2 separate regions of the Homo sapiens genome follow, and region 1 is linked to region 2. Evidence: promoter capture Hi-C in human tissues and cell types (Jung and others, 2019). All regions are on one chromosome and are shown on one strand. Each heading gives the region's core, a stretch centred on a gene start or on the middle of the fragment in contact. The rest is flanking DNA. Distances are from core to core; before and after follow the strand shown.

Region 1 (5,796 bases), core at 2,241-4,740, 240 kb before region 2:
ACCATTTACCTATTAACCAGATTAATTGTGCATTAGAGAAAGAAATTAGCCAATTTTTTTAAGCAAATTCTGTTCAATAGCTCTGAACCAACATGAATTCCTAGGAATCCAAAACTCTATTATTGCTATAGCTTGACTGTCCCCTCCAAAACTCCTGTTGAAATTTAATTGCCATTGTGATAGTGTTGAGATGGAACCTTGATCAAAAAATGAGTTATTAGCTAATGAAAGGGGTCATGAGTTATAGTTAATTTCTGTTTATTCAGTTTATTCTAACTACAGTATAATATTTAGTTTAGGAATAAAGGGAATGACATTAGTAAAATAGGTAAGCCAAATTTTATAGTACCTTGAATTCTCATAGCCAAGTCTCAACACTATCATTTGATGAGCCTGTTTTCTGTAAATTGCTCCTAAAAGAGGGAATTTTTATTTAACTATCATGTTGAGTGTAGCAAAATGATTGGTGTGAATTTACTTTGGAGATTTGCAAACTCAAGGCAGTTTTTCAACTGGAGTGGGTGAGATTGGTGGAGGCTCCAGGTTAAACCATTGTAAATTCCAGACTACTCTACATGATGAGGGCACTTAGCAAAAATAAAAGCAATGTGGAAAAAAAAAACACCTTTTTGTAAAATTCAGTTTTTATAGCATTAATCTCCCTGTGAGATAATAATCTCCAGACATAATAAATGAGAGAGAGTGAGCAGAATCCATCTTAGAACAGATTCTCCTCTCCACACACTAATTTCTTCTTAAACGTTTCAAAATTCAAAAGGTGAAGTGATATAGAAACTGATCAAACATCAACCCCAAAGCGTATGAGAAATACTATGTTCATGTTGTTAAATTGTGGATTATTGTTTCTCTGCATATTTACCAGTGAACTAAAGGTTAATTCTCTGTCTGTAAATTAAATGGATTTGTAATTAGAGCCTTTTGCTTAATTTGCTTTAAAGATCATTCCTGTTTATGTGTTGACCGCAATTTCACTTTTAAATGTAATTGCTTTTAAATCCCAGAGGATGCTAATGTAGATTCAGATCAATACATTTTAATACTGAAAACTATGATCAAGGATTAACAATGTAAATTTTTATAAAGAAAGTTAAGTGTAGCTATCTCTGTGTCCCTCTTGTTGGTGGCTTCCAATTAGATGTTGCTGAGAGCTTAACCTCCAGAAGCTCTAGAACATTGTACACCTGCAGCAGCCTCCCCAGCCACATTCATTGTGGAGCATGGGCAAGAACACAAACTCTTTAGTAAGTCAGTCTTACCAGACAGAGCCCAGGAAACAGGAAAAATAATAACTACAATCCAAGCAGTTCCTATTTTTCATGTCTATGTTGAACCTCTTTGAAAAGTCATCTCCAAAGGTTAGGGGAGACTTTAGACTGAGTCCAGGATATTTCACTTGTACTGCAGCCCATGGGTCAGACATGTCCCAAAGCTAAATGATTTATCCCAACTTTTTACATCACAAACTCTTCCCTGAGCCAGACTGCGTGGTGGCTGGGCAACTGTACTTAGTGATTATTTTTAAAACGTCACTGTGTTTCACTGGACAAGAATGAGACAAAGAAAGTTATCTTTACTTGAACTCTTCTCAGAGAAAACTGCTTATAGATGGAAGGAATAAACTCCTCTAAAGATGGGGGCACAGGTTAGGGGAGATTGGACACTGACATGGTTAGGCTGTGTCCCCACCCAAATCTCATCTTGAATTGGAGTTCCCATAATCCTCAAGTGTAGTGGGAGGGGGCCGGTGGGAGGTAATTGAATCATGGGGATGATTACTTCCATGCTGTTCTCAGTGATAGTGGGTGAGTTCTCACAAGATTTGATGGTTTTATAAAGGGCTTGTCCCTTCGCTCATCCTCTTTATTTTCTCTCCTGCCACTACGTGAAGAAAGATGTGTTGCTTCCCCTTCCATCATGATTGTAAGGTTCCTGAGGCCTCCCAAGCTGTGCGGAACTGTGAGTCAATTAAACCTCTTTTCTTTATAAATTACCCAGTCTTGGATATTTCTTCATAGCAGTGTGAGAACAGACTGATACAGGCACCCTCAGGACCTTGCTGACACTGCCTTCCTTCTAAGGAAGCTACATCTGACTGACCACAGGGTGCGTGTGTGTGTGTGTGTGTGTGTGTGTGTTTTGTTAACAGGAAACTTCAAGTTTCAGGCCAAAAGCGACTTTCTGGTGATTATTATAGAAAACCTGAGAACTACCACAACTGGTTCTCTTTCTTTATCCTTCTTTCATACTTTATTCAGTAGTTTCTTAAAATAAATATTGAAGGAATATTCAAAGAATGGCAGTTTGAAGAATTACTGAATTCTTATAGCCATCCACAGAGCTCCCATGTCTTAGCTGGGCTCTGCCTCCGCTGTCCTCACCACAGCATGAACAGATTAAGATATGCCAGGTAGCCCCTATAAACCATGTCACCTCACCTCTAGTATGAGGCTATAGAAAAAGAAAAAAGAAAAAAAAAAGCATGTCTCCATCCCTACGTCAGTGTCACACATGCCAGGAACTCGGCAACACTCTGCTTAGAAGATTTAACACCACATTAAATAAACACTACACTGAGATTTTAATTTCAAAAGTACTTTCTTGAAAAACAGCTATGTGACTAGCACCATTTTAAGTATTACGGAGGCTGCTATTAGAAATAAATGGCATGGTCCTTCCCATCAAAGAGCATAGAATCTGCTTAGAAAAACAAGCTTAGAGTAAGCCTTTAAAGTAAACCTCCAGCAAATCTTGGTCCACGCAGTTACAAGCCTTTGCTCTTGAACTGGCACTTGGGAAATATAGAGAATTATTATAGGAATGGATCTCCATTTTGTGAGTGTGTGTGTGTGTGTGTGTGTGTGTGTCTTAGACGTGGAACTTCTCAGATACATATAGTCACCTCATGGCCAAATTATAAAGACACAGGATTCAAAATATTTAACAGAAGGCAAACTTCCTCTGCAGAGATGGGAGAAAGAGCCTGTGTACACAGTTGCAAAATGAAAGGGAGGAAAAGATTCCCTCAGAAGCGTAATCATGCTGGACCCCCTGCCTGGATAATTCAGAGAGAGCTGAGAAAACTATTTCTTCAATTTTGCCATTTTTAGATAAATTAGCAGGATAATTGCCTTGACTCCACTCTTTCCCCGGTGGGTGGAGACACAGCTGGGCTAAGAGTAGAGGCCAAGCCAATCTGAATCCAAATGAAGGGTGAATCACAGTAGGGTTGAATAATAATCCCCTGCTCTCTGCCTCTGCTCTTCTTGTAACCTGCTTCTAGATAAGACCTTTGTCTTTGGGCTGGGATATAATTAAAGCTTGTCAAAACATCCTTCCCATTTCCCTATACACAATTGCCCTCTGTATTATGTTTTATATTAATTTATCCAGATGCTTTAAAAAATTCCCATGTACAATTTTTGAATAATTTTTGAAAAGATCTGTATTCTTCATAACCAAAGCTTTATTTCTAGCTATACACAGCATTTGCCTTCATCTGCATGGCTCTGCTGCAATCTATAGTCCACTGTCTTCATTCATTCATTCATGTTTGTTGACTAAACTAATTCATAAATGTGTGTTGAATGAGAGAGTGAGTGAATTTCTGAGAAAACATGAATTTGCGGGGGAGGGGTCAGGCAGAATGAGGTGATTTGAATGTATCCCCCTTTAAATTTCAGGTGTTGCCAATGCGGTAATGTTGGGAGGCAGGATTTTTGACAGGCGACTGGGCTATGTGGGCTCATCGCTTGTGGGCGAGATTGAACGCCCTTGTAAGAGGACTTGGCAAAAGGAGTTCTTCCTTTCTCACCCTCCCAGCTTTTTCCATGTGAAAATACAGCATTCTTCCCTGCTGGAGGATGCAACCCTGACCAGACACCAAATGCCTGTGCCTTGTTCTAGAGCTTCCAGCCTCCAGGACTGTCAGAAATAATTTTCTGTTCTTTGTAAATTACCCAGTCTCAGGTACTGTGTTATAGCAGCACAAACAAAGACAGGGGTATTCAACAAATACGATTGTGTAGACACATTTTATAGTATCAGCATGGTCTGGATTTTGAGTCACCTTGTCTTATACTCTGAGGTTGAACTCCATGACATTCACTTAAATGGCAAAATGCTGTAAACATGTATATATGAACCGAAGTGAATTTGTACTTACATCTTGATGCCTAACTTTCCTGGCAGTATTAGTATTTGTTATTTTTTTCTAAACCACCTTCAGTGTATATGTCTCCAAACATAAATGTTCAATATTCAATATCACACATGTAGTCATTCATCATTTCATAAAATTATGAAATCGAGAAGAATCTCTGTTGCCCATTGCCAATGTATTATACAGTCTGTGTACTCTTCATAACCAAGGCTTTATTTCTAGCTGTACACAGCATTTCCCTTCATTTGCATGATGCTGCTGTAATCTACAGTCTACACTATTACCAATGTATATGCAATTATGCTACACTATAGCACAATTTTTATATAATGTACTATTTTCAATCTCTGTTGTTTGCTGAGTATATTTTCCTGATATGCTTTCCTTCTATGGGTTTAGAGTTTTATAGTTGTTGCCTATTATTTCTGAGTGTGGTCGAAGTAGACAGGTTTTCTGTGTACTTATCAGTGTTTATGATGTCTTCTAAGATAACATCATCAGTCAATCTGGAATGTTTCTCTAACACTTAAACTTCACTAAAAATTTGAGGGAATGATTACTATGCCCCTAATTCTAACTAGAGCATATGTTCTAGCCTGAGCTAAACAACTGATTCAGAAGGCTTTAAAATATTTCAAATGATATAAATAACCCTCAAGGATCATAATTGGCAACTTTGCTTCTAGATATAATGGCAAATAATAAAAAGTAAAACCTCTACAAATCAAGCTAGAAGCTAGACTTCTTACTATAACTCAGGAGAGCAAAAATGTATATTTTAAGGTAATAAAATGAACTGATATTTTCACAACTTTAAAAAATTTTATAAGTATCTTTTATATTTTTATAAGTTTTTTTAATTTTATAAATATCAACTTATATTTGTTTCTGGGTAGCTAAGAACAAAAATATCAAACATGTTTTATGTTTATAATCAAATGCTGAGTTTTTTAAAACTAGCAAAATGTTAATAGTTGTTGTCTCAGACATTAGGTCATTGGTGATTTTTATTTTCCACTTTTACTTTTTTTGTATTTTTTTTTTAAGTTCTGGGATACATGTGCAGAACGTGTAGGTTTGTTACATAGGTATACATGGGCCATGGTGGTTTGCTGCACCTATTGACTCGTCCTCTAAAGTTCCCTCCCCTCACCTCCCAAACCCCAACAAGCCCTGGTGTGTGTTGTTCCCCTCCCTGTGTCCATGTGTTCTCATTGTTCAACTCCCACCTAATGAGAACGAGCGGTGTTTGCTTTTCTGTTCCCCTGTTAGTTTGCTGAGAATGATGGCTTCCAGCTTCATCCAAGTCCGTACAAAGGACATGATCTCATTCCTTTTTTTGGCTGCTTAGTATTTCCATGGTGTATATGTACCATATTTTCTTTATCCAGTCTATCATTGATGGGCATTTGGGTTGGTTCCATGTCTTTGCTATTGTAAATAGTGTAATAAACATATGTGTGTATGTGTCTTTACAGTAGAATGATTTATATTCTTTTGGTTATATGCCCAGCAATGGAATTGCTGGGTCAAATGGTATTTCTGGTTCTAGATCCTTGAGGAATCGCCACACTGTCTTTTCCACAATGGTTGAACTAATTTACATTCCCACTAGC
Region 2 (6,565 bases), core at 2,984-5,483:
ACTGTGCATCCTGTTGGAATGAGTCATCTTGCTGCAAAGATGCATAAGCGATTCCAAGTGTGGTAAAAGACCAGAGACAATGAGAAGAGGCAGTTTACTCTTAGATGGCATTAAGGGAGAAGATCCCAGTCGCAGTGAAATCTGCCCTTGTTCAACGAACAAAAGCAGGAGGAAGGGAGACAAGACTCTCTTTTCTTTTTTCTTTTTTTTTTTTTTTGAGACGGAGTCTAGCTCTGTCGCCCAGGCTGGAGTGCAGTGGTGCGATCTCCTCTCACTGCAAGCTCCGCCTCCCGGGTTCATGCCATTCTCCTGCTTCAGCTTCCGGAGTAGCTGGGGCTACAGGCGCCCGCCACCATGCCCGGAGAATTTTTTGTATTTTTAGTGGAGACGGGGTTTCACCATGTTAGCCAGTATGGTCTCAATCTCCTGACCTCGTGATCCGCCCGCCTCGGCCTCCCAAAGTGCTGGGATTACAGGCGTGAGCCACCGCGCCCAGCCAACAAGACTTATTTTTTAACTACAGGCATACCTAGGAGACACTGCTGGTTCATTTCTAGACCAGCACAATAAAGTGAACATAGCAATAAAGTGAGTCACACCATTTTTTTGGTTCCTAGTGCATATATTAGTTATATTTATTATACTGTAATCCATTAAGTGTGCAATAGCATTATGGCTAAAAAACGTACATGCCTTAATTTAAAAAATACTTTAGCCAGGCGCGGTGGCTCACGCCTGTAATCCTAGCACTTTGAGAGGCCAAGGCAGGTGGATCACCTGAGGTCAGGAGTTCCAGATCAGTCTGGCCAACATGGTGAAACCCTGTCTCTAATAAAAATACAAAAATTAGCTGGGCATGGTGATGCGCACCTGTAGTCCCAGCTACTAGGCAGGCTGAGACAGGAAAATTGCTTGAGCCTGGGAGATGGAGGTTGCAGTGAGCTGAAATTGTGCCACTGCACTCCAGCCTGGGCAACCAAGTGAGACTCCATCTCAAAAACAACAACAACAACAAAAAAAAAACTTTAATGGTTAAAAAATGCTAATGGATCATCTGAGTCTCCAGCAAGTCTTAATCTTTTCGCTGGTGGATCTTGCCTCAATGTTGTTGAAGGCTGCTGACCAGTCAGGCTAGTGTTGATGCAGGTAAGAGCAGTTGTTGCAGTTTCTTAAAGACAATAGAGAAGTTTGCTGCATCGATTGACCCTTCCTTCCATGAAGGATTTCTCTGTAGCATGTGATACTGTTTGACAGCATTTTACACACAGTATAATTTCTTTCAAAATTGGAATCTATCCTTTCAAACCCTGCCACTACTTTATCAACTAAGTTTATATTATATTCTAAACTATTTGTTGTCATTTCAACAATATTTACAGTATCTTCACCAGGAATAGATTCCCTCTCAAGAAATCACTTTCTTTGCTCATCCATAAGAAGCAACTCCTCATCCCTTCAAATTTTACCATGAGATTGTGGCATTTCAGCCCCATCTTCAGGCTCTATCTCTAATTCTAGTTCTCTTGCTATTTCCATATTTCTAGTTACTGCCTCCACTGAAGTCTTGAACCCCTCAAACTCATCCATGAGGGTTGGAATCAACTTCTTCCAAACTCTTGATAATGTTGATCTTTTGGCTTCCTTCCTTAAGTCACAAATGTCCTTGATGGCATCTAGAATTATGAATTTTTTCAATTTACTTTTTCCAGATCCATCCAAGGACCCCCTATCTCTGGCAGCTATAGCCTTATGAAATGTACTTTCTACATAATAAGACTTGAAAGTCACAATGACTCCTTGATCCATGAACTGTGGAATGCATGTTGGGTTAGCCAACATGAAAACAACACTAATCTCTTGTATGTCTCCAGGAGAACTCTTGGGTAAACAGGTACACTGTCAATGAACAGAAATATTTTGAAAGGAATCACTTTTTCTTTTCTTTTTTTTTTTTTTTTTTTGAGCAGTAGGTCTCAACAGCAGACTTAAAATGTTCAGTCAGCCATGACAGATGTGCTGTCATCTAGGCTTTGTTGTTCCATTTATAGAGCACAGGAAGAGTATATTTAGCATAATTTTTAAGGGTCTTAGAATTTTTGGAATGGTCAATGAGAATTGGCTTCAACCTAAAATCACCAGCTGCATTATCTCCTAACAAAAAAGTCAGCCTGCCCTTTGAAGCTTTGAAGCCAGGCATTGACTTTTCCTCTCTAGCAGTGAAAGTCCTAGATGGCATCTTCTTTCAATAGTAGGCTGTTTTGTCTACATTGAAAATATGTTTAGTGTATCCACCTTCAATGATCTTGACTAGATTTTCTGGATAACTTGCTGCAGCTTCTACATCATTTGCTGCTTCATCTTGCACTATTATGTTACGGAGATGGTGTTTTTCCTTAAATCCCTGATAGCTTCAACCTTTTCTTCTGCAGCTTCCTCAGCTCTCTCAACCTTCATAAGATTGAAGAGAGTTAGAGCCTTGCTCTGGATTAGGCTTTGGCTAAAGGGAATGTTGTAGCTAGGTTGATCTTCTCCCCAGACCACTAAAATTTTCTCCCTATCTGCAATGAGGCTGTTTTGTTTTCTTATAATTCATGTTTTCACCAGAGTAGCATTTTCAATTTCCTTCAAGAACATTTCCTTTGCATTCCCAACTTGTCTAATTATTTGACACAAGGCCGAGCTTTTGGCCTCTCTTGGCTGTTGATACATCTGAGCTTAATCGTTTCTAGCTTTTCATTTAAAGTAAGGGACATGCAACTCTTCCTTTCACTTGGTCACTTAAAGGGCATTGTAGGGTTACTGGTTGGCCTAATTTCAATATTAGGCCATTATTATTAGACAATTATTAGTGTTTCATTTCAGGGAATATGGAGGCCCAAGATGAAGCAGAGAGACAGAGGAACAGCTGGTTGGTGGAGCAGTCAGAACACACACATTTATTAAGTCCCTGTCTTACATGGGCTCAGTTCATGGTGCCCTCAAAACAATTTCAACAGTAACATCAAAGATCACTGATTACAGATCACTATAACAGGTACAATAATGAAAAAGTTTGAAAGATTGCAAGAATTACCAAAATGTGCCACAGAGACATGTAGTGAGCAAATGCTGTTGAAAAACGGTGCTAGGACTTGCTTAATGCAGAGTTGCCACAAACCTTCAATTTGTAAGATGTGAAAGATCTGCAAACAGCAATAAAGTGAATCGCAGTAAAACAAAGTGGGCTTGTACAGCAAGGAGGTTATACAAATATACTTTTGAAATCCTACAGCCAGTTTGAATCCAGGCTTTGGCAGTTATTACTATGACTGGGCAAACTACTGTGTTTTTAAACTTCATTTTTCCTATCTGTAAAATGGGGATTTTTTATAGATTGTGTGTGTGTGTGTATATATACACACACACACACACATATATATATATACACACATATATATATAGTTGTTGTGAAGATTTAAAAATGTACACCGTCACAAGGACTCCATAAAATAAGCTATTATTGTAATCTATTGGAGACAGGGCAAGTAAAAATCCACACTGATGTTAAGTGAATCTTTAAAAACAAGTACCAGAAAAAGACGAGTTTTTATTTTATAAGATATGACCTAAGGGGCCTAGGAAGAGAAAAAACTTGTTTTGTCAAGTCTAAATCCACTCATATTTCATGGGGCCACGTATCACGTCCAACCTTTGATATCTGGCACACAACAAACAAACAGGAAAGGCCTTTCGTGTGCTTTAATAAAAACAGCTTTCCATTTTAAAACGATAAATATATTGGAAAAATCTGTTGGCTCTCCAACAGCTCTTATAAAACAAAGCTCAGACGCTGTGTTTTTGTTGTTTGAAAGAGAGAAATCAGGGGCTTGGGCATTATTAGGCTCCCTTTGATCGCGCCCTGGGATGGGAAGCCTTCGGGCAAAGCCCTGGGGGCAGGACGCGTTTTTTTTTTTTTTTTTTTTTTTTTTTAATCGATCCCGGAACCTTCGCGCGGCGGAGGGGGCGGGCGCGCCGCAGGGGCCCGAGGGAGGGGTCTGGGGCGCGGCGCCGCTTGCCCATCCCCCGAGCGCGCGGCGGGGCGGCCGGCCGGCGGCCGCCGGGATGCGGAGGGGCGGCGACGGGGGCCGGACCCTGCCGGGGCGGCGGGGCGGGCACCGCCCGAGGGGGTAGGGCGCGCGCGGGGGCGCGCCGGGCCGGGGAGGCGCGCTCGCTCCGCGCTCCCTTCGCTCGCTCGTTCCCTCCTCCCTCGGCAGCCGCGGCGGCAGCAGGAGAAGGCGGCGGCGGCGGCTAGGGATCAGACATGGCGGCGGATCTGAACCTGGAGTGGATCTCCCTGCCCCGGTCCTGGACTTACGGGATCACCAGGGGCGGCCGAGTCTTCTTCATCAAGTAAAGAGCCGGGGACGGCACGGGGGCCCGCGGGGGCGGGAGGGCAGGAGGCGGGCGGCTGGCGACACGGGGGAGAGCCCGGGTCTGTGCTCCTGCAGCCCCTCGGCTCGCCCCCGCGTCCCCTCTCACGCTCCGTGTCTGCCCCTTCTCTCACCCCTGCAGCGAGGAGGCCAAGAGCACCACCTGGCTGCACCCCGTCACCGGCGAGGCGGTGGTCACCGGACACCGGCGGCAGAGCACAGGTAACGCCGGGCCCAAACGGAGTTGGGCTCCGCCTGGAGGAGGCGGCAGAGCCCGGGCCGCCCGGCTCCCCGCAACCTGCCCCGCGCCGCGGGCCCCGGGAGGCGGCGAGGCGGGGCGGAGGCCGGGCGGGAGCGGCCGCAGGTAGAGGGGCCACGGGGACTCCGCCGCCGGGAGTTCTCTCCAGTCTCGGGGCGCCTCTTTCTCCTCAGCCTTTCATCAGCACTTGGAGACGGCGCCCTCTTCCTGCGCCTTCTCCCCCCATCCCAGCCTAGACGACCCTCGCGACCCTAGAGTGGCGACGCTCCCCTCCCTGAAACCTGGAGTCCTGAGTTTTTCCTCCGCGGCCGCTACTCACTCCCCGGTGACCCCCAGCTGCCGTCTTGCCCCCCAGCAATCTTCAGGCAGTCCTTACCCACTCCCCTCCCTGCAGCCCCGGACCCCGATCGCCCGCCGGGATAACGTAACCACATCCTCCCCCTCCTCCCAGGAGCGCTGCCTCCTGCCGTGCAGCTTCCTCCTCCTAGGTGGGACTTGTGGGTAGGTGGCTGATGAAGGAGGAGGAGGAGGAGGAGAGGAGTTCGGGGGTGCTGCGATCCTCTCTGTGACAGGGAACGGCTCGGGAAACGCTTGGCGCGTTCCCTCCTGCCACGGGAGGAGCAGCCGGAGCCGGAGGAGGCGTTCGCAGCCTCAGTTGCTGGCGATCCGGATCTAAAGTCCCCGCCAGCCGCACGGAGGTTGCACAGACTGCCAGGAGGCGGTGGGCGTGCGAGGGGGTGTCCCGTATGGGGGCACCCGGGCCCTGTTTGGAGGGAGTCCGTGGGGAAGCGGCTCTCTCGGGTGGCTTTGGGAGCTTGTTTGAATGCTAAGTGTGAGTGGAGCTGGAAAAGGCTCCTCGTAGTTTCTGTACTGGTCTGGGTTTCTTTTATCATTCTTTGTTTACATTCGTGACTTGTTTGTCTTTGAAATGTAACATGTGTTCTCTTACTGGCCTGCCTCTAGTCCTGGTGATTGGAAAGGCTTGAGAGCAGTTTGGGTCGAAGGCGAGGCCAGTTTCAGCAGTCCTCAGAGCTGGCCTCTGGGGTACATTCTCTCGGACTCTGACATTCCGTGAATCTGTTAAAGTTGCCAGGATATTGAACAAACCTGCCTCTCTGTGAAATGCTGGAGTTCACTGAAGTGACTAATGTCTCCAAATTTGCAAAAAGGTGGAGGAAGAAAGGAAAGGCTGGTGTAGCAAGCATGATGAGCTTACATTTTTAAGGCATTTCTGACTAATACACTATCATGTTTCTCAATTCCCCGGTGCAGGCTTTTGCTTCAATATACCTTTCTGGTGTTTTACACGCATATTCCAACTTTGATGGCCTCTTTGCTTTTATGGATAATGATAGATTTATTTCATGAAAGACGATATGACATTTAAATTATTTAGACTAATTATCCTATGGAATTATGAGTGATATAAATAAGTGTCCTAGTTAACCCCACAGATTTGGTAACATTCACGCCACAGAAAAATTTTATTCTTTTATGTGATTTCACTTTTTTTTTTTTCTGGTTTGGTTTTACTTTGCTTGGACTCTGGTTTTGTACACACATCGGTTGTTTTTACTTCCAAGAGGCATTTTGATGAAATCCAAACAACTTGTCATTAATAATAATATGTAGCACATAATGACCATTGTTCACCTGAATCATCCCCAACTTTACTACTTGAAACTTCACGTCTCTTAGTCAAATTTTTAGAAACACACACGGAAGTATTCGGTGTCATTTCTTTTCCATTAATTAAGTAGTTAGGAAGTTCTGCCTTCTTTTTGGTGACACTTCCTAGATGGATTCATTTGTGTAGCTGAAAAATACGGTCTTAAATAGACACAATATACCCAAGAAGAGGCAGGCGTTGCCTGTTATACCCAGCTTTTTTTTTTGC

Evidence for each region. The method cuts DNA at HindIII sites, captures the fragments that hold promoters and counts their contacts. A contact is called where the count stands out against the background at its distance.
Region 1: a fragment that was not itself captured here is called in contact with the fragment with the promoter of PLEKHA5 in region 2 in 2 of the 25 tissues and cell types used here (H1 embryonic stem cells and IMR-90 fibroblasts).

The regions. Positions count from the first base shown.
Region 1 is chr12:18,885,057-18,890,852 of GRCh38, forward strand. No RefSeq gene overlaps it. Among named protein-coding and RNA genes, the nearest start is that of CAPZA3, 150 kb to the left of the region's middle. The HindIII fragment of the contact is 5,934 bases long and covers 524-5,796 here.
Region 2 is chr12:19,125,500-19,132,064 of GRCh38, forward strand. It overlaps PLEKHA5 (pleckstrin homology domain containing A5), which reads left to right and starts at 4,234. Exons shown (of 32, transcript NM_001256470.2): 1 at 4,234-4,389; 2 at 4,552-4,631. The coding sequence starts at 4,301. The HindIII fragment of the contact is 10,456 bases long and covers 73-6,565 here.